Regions from separate parts of the Homo sapiens genome. Here region 2 is linked to region 1. Evidence: promoter capture Hi-C in 16 types of primary human blood cells and fetal thymus (Javierre and others, 2016). All regions are on one chromosome and are shown on one strand. Each heading gives the region's core, a stretch centred on a gene start or on the middle of the fragment in contact. The rest is flanking DNA. Distances are from core to core; before and after follow the strand shown.

Region 1 (6,902 bases), core at 2,783-5,282:
TCTTCTCCGTAGACAATTTCTAACTAGTAAGTGCAGAAGAAATTATAAAAGGAGAAAAACCACAATTTGTAACTCCTAATTTAAAAAAAAATGGATTGAGGTAAAACTCATGAATGTAGAAAAACATCCTGTGAATGGTTGATGGGGAACTTTATAATGAACAAGTCAGACTGATAATGCCTGAACTTCTGATCAACTTAACATCCCTAAAAATGAGACAACCAGACATTATGGTTTTCTGATGGGATACACATCACATCACATTCCCTATGTGTGTTCAGTACCATCTAGGAACTATTCTTTGTCAAAAAAATGTGAATCTGCATCTAATCAAACCTCTAGAACTAACCATCATTGCAAATGACACCATGAGGTTGCAATCAGCCATGCGGGAAATTCTGCAGGACAAATGACCCAAATCCTTTAACAAGTAAATATCAAATTTAAAAATGAATGGGGACAAACTTTTTTATTAAGAGAGTCTTAAGAGACATATCAACCAAATTTAATATGTGGACATTGTTTTAACCTGATTTAAATAGACAAACTACAAAAAACGATTTTTAGACAACAGTGGAAAATGAACAAGAATTGGGTATTAGCTCACATTAACAAATTATTGTTAAATTTTTTGGGTGTGACAATGGTATTATGTTTTAAAAAGTTATTTGTTAGAGGAAGGTAGTAGAATAGTTACTGGTGAAATATGATGCTTGGGATTTGCTTTGAAATACTCTAGAAAAATAAAAGTAAGTGTGTGTGTGTGTTTGTGTGTGTGTGAGACAGAGAAAGAGAGAAGAGGGAAGAAAAAAGAATGACAAAATGTTGATGAATGTTGAAGCTGGATGTTAGGAACAGAGGGTTCCTCTGCTTTTGTATTTGTTTGAAAATGATCATGCTTAAAATTAAAAGCTGATTTTGTTTTAAAATGTTTTCACATGAAATACAGCAAAAATACAAAAGAACTTATGAACATTAAAACAAAAGTATTGAAATGTAGTCTCATGTTATCAATAACCCAGAGCAAAACATCCAACATTACTATTTCTAGAGGTCTCCTTCGGCCCCTCCTTAAATACTTCATCCTTCTTCTTCCTAAGAGATACTGTTTTGAATTTTATGTTATTTTACTTTTGATTTTCCTTATAAAAGTTTTTAAAAACTACTCTTGCACCTATTCTTACATAACATACTGTTTAGTTATTTTTTCTGTTTTTGAACTTCATACAAATGGAATCATGCTTTATGCATTCTGTTGACTTGCCTTTTTCATTCAACATCAGTTTTGAAATGATCCATGTTGATGCTTTTAACTGCAGCTTATTCATTTCTGTTTCTGCAACGACTCCAATGTGTGCATATACTAAAACCTTTTTAATCCACTCTACAGTTGGTAGACATTTGAGTTATTTTCTGCATATTATGAACATTCCTGTATATTTCTCCTGGTGCACATATAAAATAATTTATTTAAGGTACGTACCTGTTACTGTGTTGTAGGAAACATGCAAATGAAATTCAGGAATGCCAAATTGTTTTCTAAAGTGGTGGTTAGACCAATTTATACTTCCTCCAGGAAGCAGTGTTTTCAGATTTCCCCCCTTCCACATTTTTACCTACTCTTAATATTTTTAGAGTTCTTAATTTTTGCAAATCCGGTGAATATGAAATGGTATAGTAGTATTATTTTAATTTGCATTTCTCTTATTACTAATGAACTTGAGCATCTTTTTATATGTTTTCTGAATATTTGTGCTTCTGTGAAATACACATTCATTCTTTTGTTCATATTCTAACAAGTTCTCTTTTTTTATTGATTATTTATACATTCTGTATACTAACCTTTTGTGTTATATGTATTACAGGTATTTAGTGGCTTTTATCGCTTTTTATAAAATCCTTCAATGAACCAGTGTTCTTAATGTTAACAGTCAAATCTGTCAATCTTACACTGTTGTTCCCCTTATTTAACCAATCTTTCCTATTTCAGGGTCAAAAAGGTATTCTTCTATATTGTCTTCTAACAGCTTTATACTTTTGTTTTTCACATCCAGGTCATGATTCACCTCAATTTTCCACCCTCCTCCCTTGGTATGTGTGAGGCAGGGCTCCCATTTCATTTTTTCCATATGATTGCCAGTTGACCCAGAATCATTTATTGAAAAGTTCATTCTTTCTCCACTGCGCTATAATACCAACTCAGTCATAAATCAAGTGTCTATACAAGTGTAGGTCTGCTTTTGGGCTCTCTAAAACAGGCTGAATTTCCATCATCCAGAAAAAACAGTAAGTAGAACAGTCTAAGTTTGGTAGTTTCCCTTATTACCTCAAACCTAGAACTTCTGCGATTGTTCTCGATTTACTTCTCTTCCTTCTGTCACTCTTCCAAACCATCATTCCTAGTCTTCCTAAAGCACAATTTAGTTCATGTCAGTTCCCTGTTTAAAAACATTAAAAGGCCCCACATTGAAACAATATGGGAAATATTTTAGGCTCCCCTAGTCTGACAGTGACCCATTCCACTTTTCAGGTCTGCATGCACCTCAACAGTGCCTACAATATAGCAGACATAGTAAATATTAGCTTCCTTATAGGCTTTTACATAGGTAAATGAGAGGGACATGATTTGCCTCCTGGCAGAGCCAAAATGTTCTCACCTATACTTATATTTATTTTGTTTTTGTCAAACATGTAAGATCTAGAAATTTGTCTAAACCATAGAACGATTATAAGGGTTTCAGGTCCTTATTTTGTCATTGTTTTAAAGTATCTTACTAAACCTATTTTAAAATGTTATCATATAAAAATAATAACTGTTTAACAAAATAATGCATTCCAGTTGAGTTTAATTTACCTTGTGCTATTAACAAAAGACTCTTCAAAAACCAAAATGACAAAGTAAACAAGGTCTATTTAATAACAAACACAGTTTTTTATTACATTTTATTAGATGTGCCGGAACCCTAATTTGAGGATGCTTGCTTACCTATGCTATCCGTATGTACATTTTGGTATTAGCTCTCTTTTTGAGCTGGAATATAAAAGTCTTCTGCAGGCAGCTTCGGGGACCAATTAATTCCATTAAATTATATCTAGTTATGTAGTGAACTGAACCACTGCTGGTCTGAGGCTGTCTAGAGCTGTGACAATTAGGAGATGGAGAGAGGCAGAAAGAGAGATTGATTTTATATGTCACTGAAGCACACTGCAACAATATGCCAGCGTGACTTTCAAAATGGCCTTAAAATATTCCAAACTCAGGGAGTTTCCTTGCTCCTGAGTGGGAGTTGACAGACTGTCTGGCAGCATTAGAAAGAGGCAGAGAAAAGCTGATGTCTATATTGTGTCCTCTAATAACATTCTGCCTCTTTGCGGCATCCCCCTCTTAGAAGGATCCGTCTATATGTTGTGAGGGGTGTGTGTGTGTGTGTGTGTGTGTGTGTATGTATGTATGTGCTTTGCCTCCCCTTGTGCAAGGGGCATGATTTCACGTCTCACATCTGGGAAAACCAAACCGAAGGACGCTAACCCTCCCAAGGTCACCTAGATTAGTCTTGTGGCCCCGGGTCGGGGGTGGGTGGGAGGAACAGAACCCAGGTGTCCAGACTCCAGCTTTGTTGGGCATTAAATCATTTTCCTTCCCTTGTGAAAAAAAATTACTGGGCGGTGGGAAGTGAACGATTAATCAGATTTCCTCTTTTCCCTTATTTCCCCTCCCCCTTACGAAGATAAAAACTCGGGAAAGCAAAAGAGGTGCCCGCCCTGCAGTTCTTAAGCTGGGTCCCCCCGCATTCCCCCTCCACCCCCACTCCCACTCCCATTTCCCCACCCCCGACACAAAGCGATCTGGACTCACAGGGCTTCCGCCCGTCCAACCGCGAGCCTGGGAGGTGAGGAGTGGTTAAAACTCAGCCCTCACCTCCAGCGGGTCCCGGGCTCGGCGGCGCCCAGGCCCCGCCCCCGCCCGCCCTTCCCCCACGGCCTCGGAACGCCAGCCCCTCTCCTCTCTCCACATCGGGCGCACCCACCCCAGATGCCGCCTGGCACCAAGCGCAGCCGCCGCTGCCGCACTTTCCACTTGTATTGATCACCTCTCAGCCCCGCGCAGCCGGCTCGCCCGAGCGGACCGCGGCCAGCGCGCCAGCCCTTGGCAGCCCCGGAGCAGTCGGGCTCCGGGAGGAAACTCCTTGGGAGCGCCCTGTCCGGGGTGCCCTCTGCGCTCTGCAGTGTCTTTCTTTCTGCCTGGGAGGAGGAGGAGGAGGAGGAAGAGGAGGAGGAGGAGGAGGAGGAGGAGGAAGAGGAGGAGGAGGAGGAGGACGTCTGGTCCCGGCTGGGAGGTGGAGCAGCGGCAGCAGCAGCAGCCGCCGCCGCCGCCGCCGCTGCCGCCGCCGCCGGAAAGGGAGAGGCAGGAGAGCCCGAGACTTGGAAACCCCAAAGTGTCCGCGACCCTGCACGGCAGGCTCCCTTCCAGCTTCATGGGCAAAGTGTGGAAACAGCAGATGTACCCTCAGTACGCCACCTACTATTACCCCCAGTATCTGCAAGCCAAGGTAAAGGGGCGCCGGGGAGAGGTGACGGCCGGAGGAGGGGGCCCGGGGACGCGCGCAGGGTCAGGCCTGGGGAGGGGGGCGCGCGGCGAACCCCCGCCACCGCCGGGCGGAGTTGCTGGAAGGTTGCTAACTATAGCGCTGGCCTGGGCAGAGCCGGGCGGCGCGCGGGGCGGCGGCTTCCCTGGGAGCGGAGTGCGGGGATCGGGTTACAGAAAGCCGCGGGGGGAGAGACTAGACAGGAAAGAGCCACCAGCCCCTTCCTGGCCCGGCCAGCGGGGAGGGTCGTGGGGTCGAGCGGCGCCCCTCGCCGAGCCCTGGCTGGCCGGCGGCCGTCGCCTGGTGTGCGCGTCTGGATCCGCTGGTGGCCCGGCTTTTCGACCCCTTCTCCAAGGGCCTCGCCCTGTAAGCTGTAACTCTTCGCTCCCCTCGCCGTGGCGCGGAGCCTCCCGCCCCCCAGGGACGCCCCTCCACCTCCCGCGCACGCGATGACTGGGGCTGGAGGGGCGGCGGGGCCGGGATATTTTCCTCCCCGCCTCCGGCCCTGAGCGCCCGCCCCTCGCCTCTGATCTTTGTGCGGTGTGGCACTTCACCTGGTTACTGATTTCTACTTTTACGCTGGTGTTTTGGGTAGAAAAGTGGCCAAAGTTCACTCGCGTTCATTGATGTCCCTTCTAATCTCTAGAGGTTTTGCAAAGGAGGGACAATGGGCAGATTTCAGTGCAGAGAAAGAAGTGACTTCGTATTTGGTTAAAAAAGAAACAAAAACAAAACTAGCTTATATGTTTGCCACAGATCGATTTCCAATGTTGCTTTTTAAAAAGTGACCTCGGCACACTCTTGGGTAACAACAGTTGATGACATGTAGCCATACAAATTGCGCCTGGCTTTCTAGGGACCCTGGGTACTTTGTTAGTGGGCCTATCTTATTTTTACAATAAGAATTTGATGCCTCCCGAACTCATTTAAAAAAATTATTTGGGCCATGAAGACTGGAAATTTCACTGCTTTGGAAGCAGCCGCCAGAATTTGGGAGGGTGGAAGTTGGACGCAGCAGCCTTCTTCAGCCATTAACATCTATCACAACTCTGGGTGCCCTTCTAGATCACAAAAGAATCAGGTATGGATGCAGTGTCCGAACTTTCTTTGGGAGGTTGTAATCATGCTCTGCTTGCTGGTAGTTGGGCATTTCCGGCCTGGTACAAAGAATCTCTGATTCAGCCTTTTCTTTCTTAGAATGTGTGTGGTCCACGTTTTCATGTACTTACGACATAGCCCTGTATTTGTCTACGTAAAAAGGACACTTGTCAGTTTCGAGACCAGAAATGTCCTAGCAATCCCGGGCCTCATTTTCACTTCCCCCAATTCCCACTTTACTTTGGGTCACCAGAAAGCAGCAAGATGGTAGCAGCAAGGATACCCCTTATTCATCTCTGTGTAGTTCTCACAGTATTTGTTTTAGGAACTTGCAGGAGATGCTAGTTTTCTGTGAGCTACATGGTAGCTGTTCAAAGAAATTTTGTGGCATAATCAATGCACTACCTTTTAGATATCTTATATATTTAATGCACTTGTTTAAATTATGCAGCATTGGGTGCCTAAAGGACAGCTTATTCAACACTTAACAATATGAATAATAAATACACCCACTCAGGTGAGGAAGAAAAAAAGCCATGTTTCTACAGGCACATTTACCTTAGTAATTTTTATATACCATTAGTAAGTTAGAAACCAAGTCCATACCATTTAATGTAGCTAATGCAATGCCATTTGGCTTTTTTGCCCTGTAAATAATTGAAGAGAGAGACAAACGGCAAGAGCCTGCTCTAGTAATTAGGGTCGGATCCCAGAAAGCTTTACGGCCCATTTTCTGAAAGTGTGCTTCCTGCATAAAGCATTTAATATTGATTTGTGTTGCGGTAAATGACATTCTCAAAACATTTTGCTAATTCTACAATTAAATCTGAAATCCTATTATTCGGAATTCCTTTGTTTCTGGAGAAAGGTATACATACTCACTTGACCTATATAACATGGTATTAAAGTTTGGTAATTAAGTCTAAATTCCCTGTTGTACAAGTATCTTGATTATCTCAGAAGGGGACATCTTCTAAAAATGGCACGTGACTAGATGCAAATTTTAGGTAAGCAGAGTTCGGAACAGGCAGCCCTTTTTTTTTTCTCTCCCTTATGTATCTGTTGGTAGCATGGTAGTAATGTTGAATCATTTAAAAAAAAAAAGACTTTGATTTGTAGTTAGTTTAAAAACAAGTGTTGCCTAATCTACCTAAAGAGTTAATAAACTCTCTTAGGATCTGCTGTCTGTCATGATTCTTGCCTCTGTGTGTGCTTTAA
Region 2 (6,902 bases), core at 2,049-4,548, 240 kb before region 1:
TGTACAACAAGCCCTTTAAAAGTATTATTCTATACTTGTTCTGTTTAATTCCATATTTCCTAGACTCACTTAAGCCCACTCCAATTAGGCTAACTGCCCCCTTTTAATGGTCAATTCTCAATCCTCGTGTTACTCAATTCTCAGACTTCATCTGACCTGACTTAGCAGCAGCATTTGACATGGTTGATCACTGTCTCCTCCTTGGTGCCCTTTTTTCCCCTGACAGCTGGAACATCAAGTTCTTTCTTCTTTCCTTCTTCCTCAGTCTTCTTTGTTGTTTTTCCTTCTTATCCCTGACCTCTTATGTTGCCATGCCCCAGGTCTCAGACTTTGGTTATCTTCTCTTTGCTATCTATGCTCATCCCCTTGATGATCTCATTCCTTCTCATGGATTTAAATACCACCTACACACTGATGATTTCCAAATTTTATCCCCAGAGAAGGATTCTCTGTAGAACTACAGACCCAGATATCCAAATGCCTAATTGCCATTTCTACTGGAATGTCTAATAAACATCTCAACGTGGCCAGACTGAACTCCAGGTCCTCTCTCCAAATGTACTCTACCTTGGCCTTCTCCATCTCATTTTGTGATACCCCCATCCCCCCATTTGCTCAGGTTAGAAATCTTGGAATCATCCTTGACTCCTTTTCTTTTTACTCCCACCTTCAAAACATACACAGATATCAAAAACAATGAACATACCTGGCAACTACCTACCAATATTTAATTGAAAGGAACCAGTAATTCTTGGAGACATGGTTGATTCTTGGGCCAGGGCTGGAAAAGTACAAAATAAACCTGGACCATCTTAGTGTGCTACAAATGAGAAAGTACTCAAATTAGGACAGGGACATGTCAAAAGGACACAGGAACCATTTTAAAGGGCTCCCATTGACCAAATCTGAGATATTTGAGTACTTAAACAAATAATGATATTAATAGGTTAAGATTCATTGAACGAAGAATACATGTTGTTAATTAATAGAGGGAGAAGGGAAAATGTTCTGTTTCAGTAGAAAGCCAATAGTAAATTTAGAAGAAATGACAGAATTAGAAAAGTCATCATTCAGCATTGTGATAATTATCAGTTCATGGAAGAATCATCAATGCATGCCAAAACCAGTGGTGAAAGTTTGATAAGTGGCGGGATATTTACTGCATAGTTTCAAAGTATCTCCCCACAAGTTATTTTTTAATTAAAAAGAAAAATTAGTGACTTTACATTGGATAAACCTGACAGACACCACCTTAACTAAGTAACCTTAATAGAAGTGGGATAAATCAATGGCACATGTCTGTGCCTCCCGTTGTATGATGCACTGTGAAAGACATAGCATCACCTCTGTGCCAAGAATGTATTCCTGCCAAAAATGCAGAACCTACACCTAATCATGAGAAAACACCAGACAAACTCAAATTCAGGGACATTCTAAAGACAAACAAACAGAAAACTGGCCAGCATACTTAAAAAATGTCAATGTTACTAGGGACAAAAAGACTGGAACTATTCCAGATTAAAGGAAACTAAAGAGAAATAGCAACACAAATATGATCCAAAATTTTCCTTTGCTTTAATGGATATAATTCGGACACATAGTGAGATCTGAATAAGTTCTGTAGGTTAAATAACATTATTGTATCAATGGTGATCTCCTGATTTGGATAATTGTTCCGGGGTTATATGAGAGAACGTGTGTGTGTGTGTGTGTGTGTGTGTGTGTGTGTGTGTGTGTGTGTGTGTGTGTGTGCATGCGCTCATGTGTGGGTCTGCGCGTGCGCGCGTGTGGAGCGAGCGAGAGAGAGTACGCAAATGTACCTGGGAACTTGTATTATTCTTGAAAGTTTTCTATGACCTTAAAATTATGTCAAAATAAAAACAATTTAATTTTTTTAGAAAAAATGTATAAATCCAGATTCTTTCTTCTCAAAATCCTTGCTGCTGCCACTCTCATCGCAGCCACCATCATCTTTCACCCTACTCACCAAAGTAACCTCCTCACTGGTCTCACTGTTTCTGCCCTTGTCTCTTGCAGTCTGTTTTGAACACATTGGCCAGGGTGGTTCTTTTAGAATATATATCAGACCACGAAGACCCTCTACTCTGTGCTCTTTAGTTGCTTCTCGTCACTCCCAAAGCACAGAGCCCCTACCAACGCTCAAAAGACTCCCCGACCCCAAACATGACTTTCCATCTGCTGATCTCTTCTGTCTTCCATCTCATCTCACTCTCTCCTCTCCAGTCATACTGGCCTTCTTCCTCTAATCTTTAAGGCCTTTGCACTGGCAGTTTCAAGTGTCTTCATCAAGCTGATCAAAGTTCTTCATCAAGATAACCAAAAGGTTTCCTTCAGTCTTAAATATTTCTCAGTGGTGCTTACTCTATCATCCTATTTTAAATGACAGCAGTTCCATCTCCATTACTTTGCTCTATTTTCTATTTTCATCATTTTTTTAACCTTCTATCGTACCATATGATTTGCCTATTTATTCCGTCTACTATAGATTTTCTATGTCCAACTATTAGAAGGTAAGTTCCATGAGCAGAGAGATCTCTGTCAATTTTGTCTACAAATATATCCCAATACAATGTTTGTACAAAGTAAATGCTTAAATATTTCTTAAAATTAAGAAATATTTCTAGAATAAATTAATGACTGTGTGCTTCTCACAGTCTTGCTTTTTTTTTGCTAAACATTAGGTGGTACCTGGGATTTATCATGTCGTGATATATAGTTAGAATTTATTCATTTCTCACTATTATACAGTAGTCTATCGTATGCATTTCCCACAGTTTACTAACAATTTTGATGGATATTGGGTTTTATGCAAGTTTTTTCTTTGTTTGCTTAGATTATTACTAACTGTAGATACAGGTATAATTGGATATATTCCCAGTATACATATATAAGCTTTTCTCTGTGGCACAAATACACGAATAGAATTCCTAGGTAATGGAATATGTGCATCTTCAAATTTACAAGATAATGTCAAACTGTTTTCCAAAGGCATTGTCCAGAATGACATTTTAAAATTATATATTAGATCATGTCACTCTTCTGTTCTAAATACTCTGATGGTTTCCTGTCATATAGAGAATAAAACCCAGCTTCTCATTGAGGCCTCTGGTGTCTTACTTGATTTGATCCCTTCCTATTTCTCTGACCTTGTCAATCACCTTTTGTCTTCCTTACTCTGGGCCAGCCTCCTGCATCCTTTCCCTTTCAAAGAGGGAACTTACAATACCTTGCCTTTGCCTGCAATACTATTCCTCCACATATTCACTTGGGTTGAGTCCTCATCCATTCAAATCTTAATTAAGAAATTACCACTTGAATGAGACTTATTTAAAGTACCTGTTGGAAGACAGAATAATGGACTCCTAAAGATGTTCACACCCTAATCCCATGGAAACTGTGAATAAGTTATTTTATGTGGCAAAAAGGAATTAAGGTTGTAGATGAAATTTAAGTTGCTAATTAACTGACCTTAAAATAAACAGATTGTCTTGGATTATCTGGGAGGACCCAATATAATCACATAGCTTTTAAAATAGGAAAGCCTTTCCTGGCTGTGGTCAGAAGAAGAGGTGACAGTGAATGAAGGGTCAGAAAAATGTGATGATGCTGCTTCACATCAGTAGAAGAAGGGGATAGCAAGCCAAGGAATGTGAGAAGCTTCTAGAATCTGGAAAAGCAAGGAAAGGGATTCTCCCCTAGAGCCTGCTGATGCCTTGATGCTGGTCCATTGAGACCAGGGTAAAACTTCTAACCTGCAGACCAGTAAGACAACAGTTCAAGTTATTTTAAATCACTAAATTTGTGGTAATTTGCTAAAGCAGCAATAGAAAAGTAGTACATACCCAAAATGACAACCCCAATTCTCTGTACCCTGCCTGTGCTTTATTTTTCTTCATAACTCTGAACACTACTTGCCATTTTACCATATATTTGCTATTATTTAATATTAATGTCTGTCCCCAGTAAGTTACAAAAGACAGTTTGTCTGCCTCATTCTCTGTTGTATCCATGGTACCTAGTGCAGTACATGAACAGAATGGACACGTGTCAATAAATGTCTGTTGAAAGAATATTGAATTCATGAGTTTACCTTAATAGGAGTATTCATTTCTGAAGCTGCTTCTATACTATCAACCTGAAACTGCAGATTTAGAATTGCCATAACACCATCAATGTACTCTTCAGATTTTACCCTTAAAATTCTGTAATGGTGAAGTTCATTTTCCTGCAGGAAAACTTACAAAATAGTAATAAGTTGATGCACCCAGGGCTGATTAGATTTAGGACAACCCCCACTGATCAGCAGGAGGAACTCCTAAGCCCACTTTAATAAATGAATAACATTTCACCAATTTCACCTACTGTTTAGAGAACCTCCTCCAGCCATAAATCAGCTCTATGACCTAAGAACAGGGCAGGGGATTGTCAAAGTCCCTTTACTGAGTAATTCCAGAAATGCCTTAGAGCTCAACAAAGGAGGAATCTGACATTAGAAAGCTGGAATTTACAACCTAAGGGAAAGCCCCAGTAGGGAAAAACAAAACATCAGGCTGAACATCCTATAAGACCTTTTCAGTTTTGCTTACAAAAAGTCTTCATATCTCTGTAAAAGATGTTTTTCAATGAAGCAAGTTAATCCACTAAAATTCAGCCTCAGTGGTAACTATGACTGCAAATCTCTACCTTTGTCATGATTCTTTCTACTGTTCAGGAGGTGATCTTACAAACAAACTGCTGTAGGTCTGTTGGGCTGAAAAAGCAATGAAATGGCATTCTCCTGAGGACTTGATGGAAACCTTTGGATGCCAATGGTAAAGAGCTCAGGTCACTTTCTGTGACCTGTAAAGCTGCTTGAACTGCCTGGGTAAACACCAAGAAAGTTGAACATACCTTTCAACATGGCAAAATGTTTCGGAACAAGACTTTACTCAAGAGGTTATCTTTGATTCCTAACAAGGATGTATTTTTCCAAGATAAAAAATCACAATGACTTCCTTTCATCTGCAAGCACATCATGTAGATTTATTACTGTCATCAAATGAAGGAATGAGATTTTGATCTGTTGGTTTATCTTTTTCTTTAGTGCAACATATATGTTATAATTCCACCTTATTAAAGTCAAGATTCTACCAATTATTGCTACAAATCTTACAACCTGTTCTAACCCAGCCTAAAGAGTTGCTCATCCAAATTGCACTAAAACTAGGATTTATACTTAATTGCTAGTTTGCTAGATTTTGATTTGCACCTGCATAGAGGACACAATGTATATCTGTTGGATAAACTCAGATGTGAGACAGGCTTGGGGAGACTTTAAGACAACCAAAAAAAAATTACATGAAACTAAATAATAGTTTAATAAGCTGAAATATTGGGTTGTAGGCTACTGAACAATTAAGCAAATAATTATTGAGCCAAAAGTTATTCATTCTCATACTGAAAAGTTTTTTTTACAAAAATATTTCTTCTACAAAACAATCTTCTTATTAAACTTGGCTTTTCACATATCTGCTCATGATCTTATAACTTGGAGAATAACATCTTGTATCTGTAAATAGGTAGAAGGTGTATGTTTTAACTTTCATCAATGACCTGGCTAAAGAAATAGGAAACTCATTGATTTAGCTGACATAGTCACCTGGAGAGAAAGTAAACTCCTTAACAGATGGGACTGGAATTCTAAATGACCTTGCTAAGTCAGACAAGCAGATAGGTCCAGTCAGAAAGACACTAAGAATGATAAGCACAATAATTACTTTACAATAAGAATAGAGAAAAAAAAGCAGAAAAAAGGGGATAAACAGGGTAAGAAAAGGTGGGCTGTAAAGGACCCAAAAGTTGTTGAGCTGAAGCTAATTAAATAGAACAATTAATAGAGTAAATGAATAAAGTAAGCATAATATGTACTACAGATTTATGTCCACATGTAGAAGAAGAGTTAAAGTGAGATAAAAATCTCTATAAGTTCAGAGAATGAAAATTAGCAGGATGAAAGTCTCATAGAAAGATTGTTTTAGAAAAGGGAATATTAATTTATTCAGTGTCTACTATGTGTTAAGAAATGGAAATACAACAGTGTATTCCCATTTGGTCTTTAAGGAGCCTAGAGTCTCATAAAAGACATATAAGTAAGCAAACAAATGCAACATATAGATGTTTTGATAAAAGACTAATACGATTTTAGCAATAACCTTTAAGCATACATTATAATAACAGTAATGAGGCAACTAATGCAAAGAGAGATTAAGAATGCTGCCTTAAGTTGGTAAGCAGTAGAGGCAGAAATTCAACCCAAGAAATCTGACTCCAGAGCCATGCTCTTTTTTATCGAATTTTACATTCAAGGGGTACATACATGTGCAGGTTTGTTACATGAATATACTGCATGATGCTGAGGTCTAGGCTTCAGTTGAACCAGTCACCCAAACAGTGAACATAATACCTAATACTTAGTTTTTCAACACTTGTCTCCCTCTCTCCTTCCCCCTTTTGGAGTCCCCAGTATCTATTGTTTCCTCTTAATGTCCACATGTACCCGATGTTTAGCTCCCACTTGTAAGTGAGAACATCCAGTATTTGGTTTTCTGTTCTTCATTAATTTGTTTAGGATAATGGCCTCCAGGGTCATCCATGCAGCTGCAAAGGACATGTTTTTATTCTTTTTATCGCTGTGTAGTACTCCATGGTGTATGTGTACTACATTTTCTTTACCCAATCAACCACTGATTGGCACCTAGGTTGATTCCATGTCTTTGCTATTGCTTTGCTATTGCTATAATAAACATGTGCATGCAGGTGTCTTTTGAGTATTACAATGTATTTTCCTTTGGGTATATATACCCAGTAATGGGGTTGCTAGGTCAAATTGTAACCTATTTTTA

The links. Contacts are between HindIII fragments. The CHiCAGO score rates a contact against its expected background, and 5 or more counts as called.
Region 2: a contact is called between a fragment that was not itself captured here and the fragment with the promoter of RBMS1 in region 1, in 1 of 17 cell types (monocytes). The highest score is 5.4, in monocytes.

Annotation. Positions count from the first base shown.
Region 1 is chr2:160,490,937-160,497,838 of GRCh38, reverse strand. It overlaps RBMS1 (RNA binding motif single stranded interacting protein 1), which reads left to right and starts at 4,032. Exons shown (of 14, transcript NM_016836.4): 1 at 4,032-4,550. The coding sequence starts at 4,476. RefSeq lists a silencer at 3,605-3,784 and an enhancer at 3,971-4,491. The HindIII fragment of the contact is 13,330 bases long and covers 1-6,403 here.
Region 2 is chr2:160,728,411-160,735,312 of GRCh38, reverse strand. No RefSeq gene overlaps it. Among named protein-coding and RNA genes, the nearest start is that of RBMS1, 240 kb to the right of the region's middle. The HindIII fragment of the contact is 765 bases long and covers 2,916-3,680 here.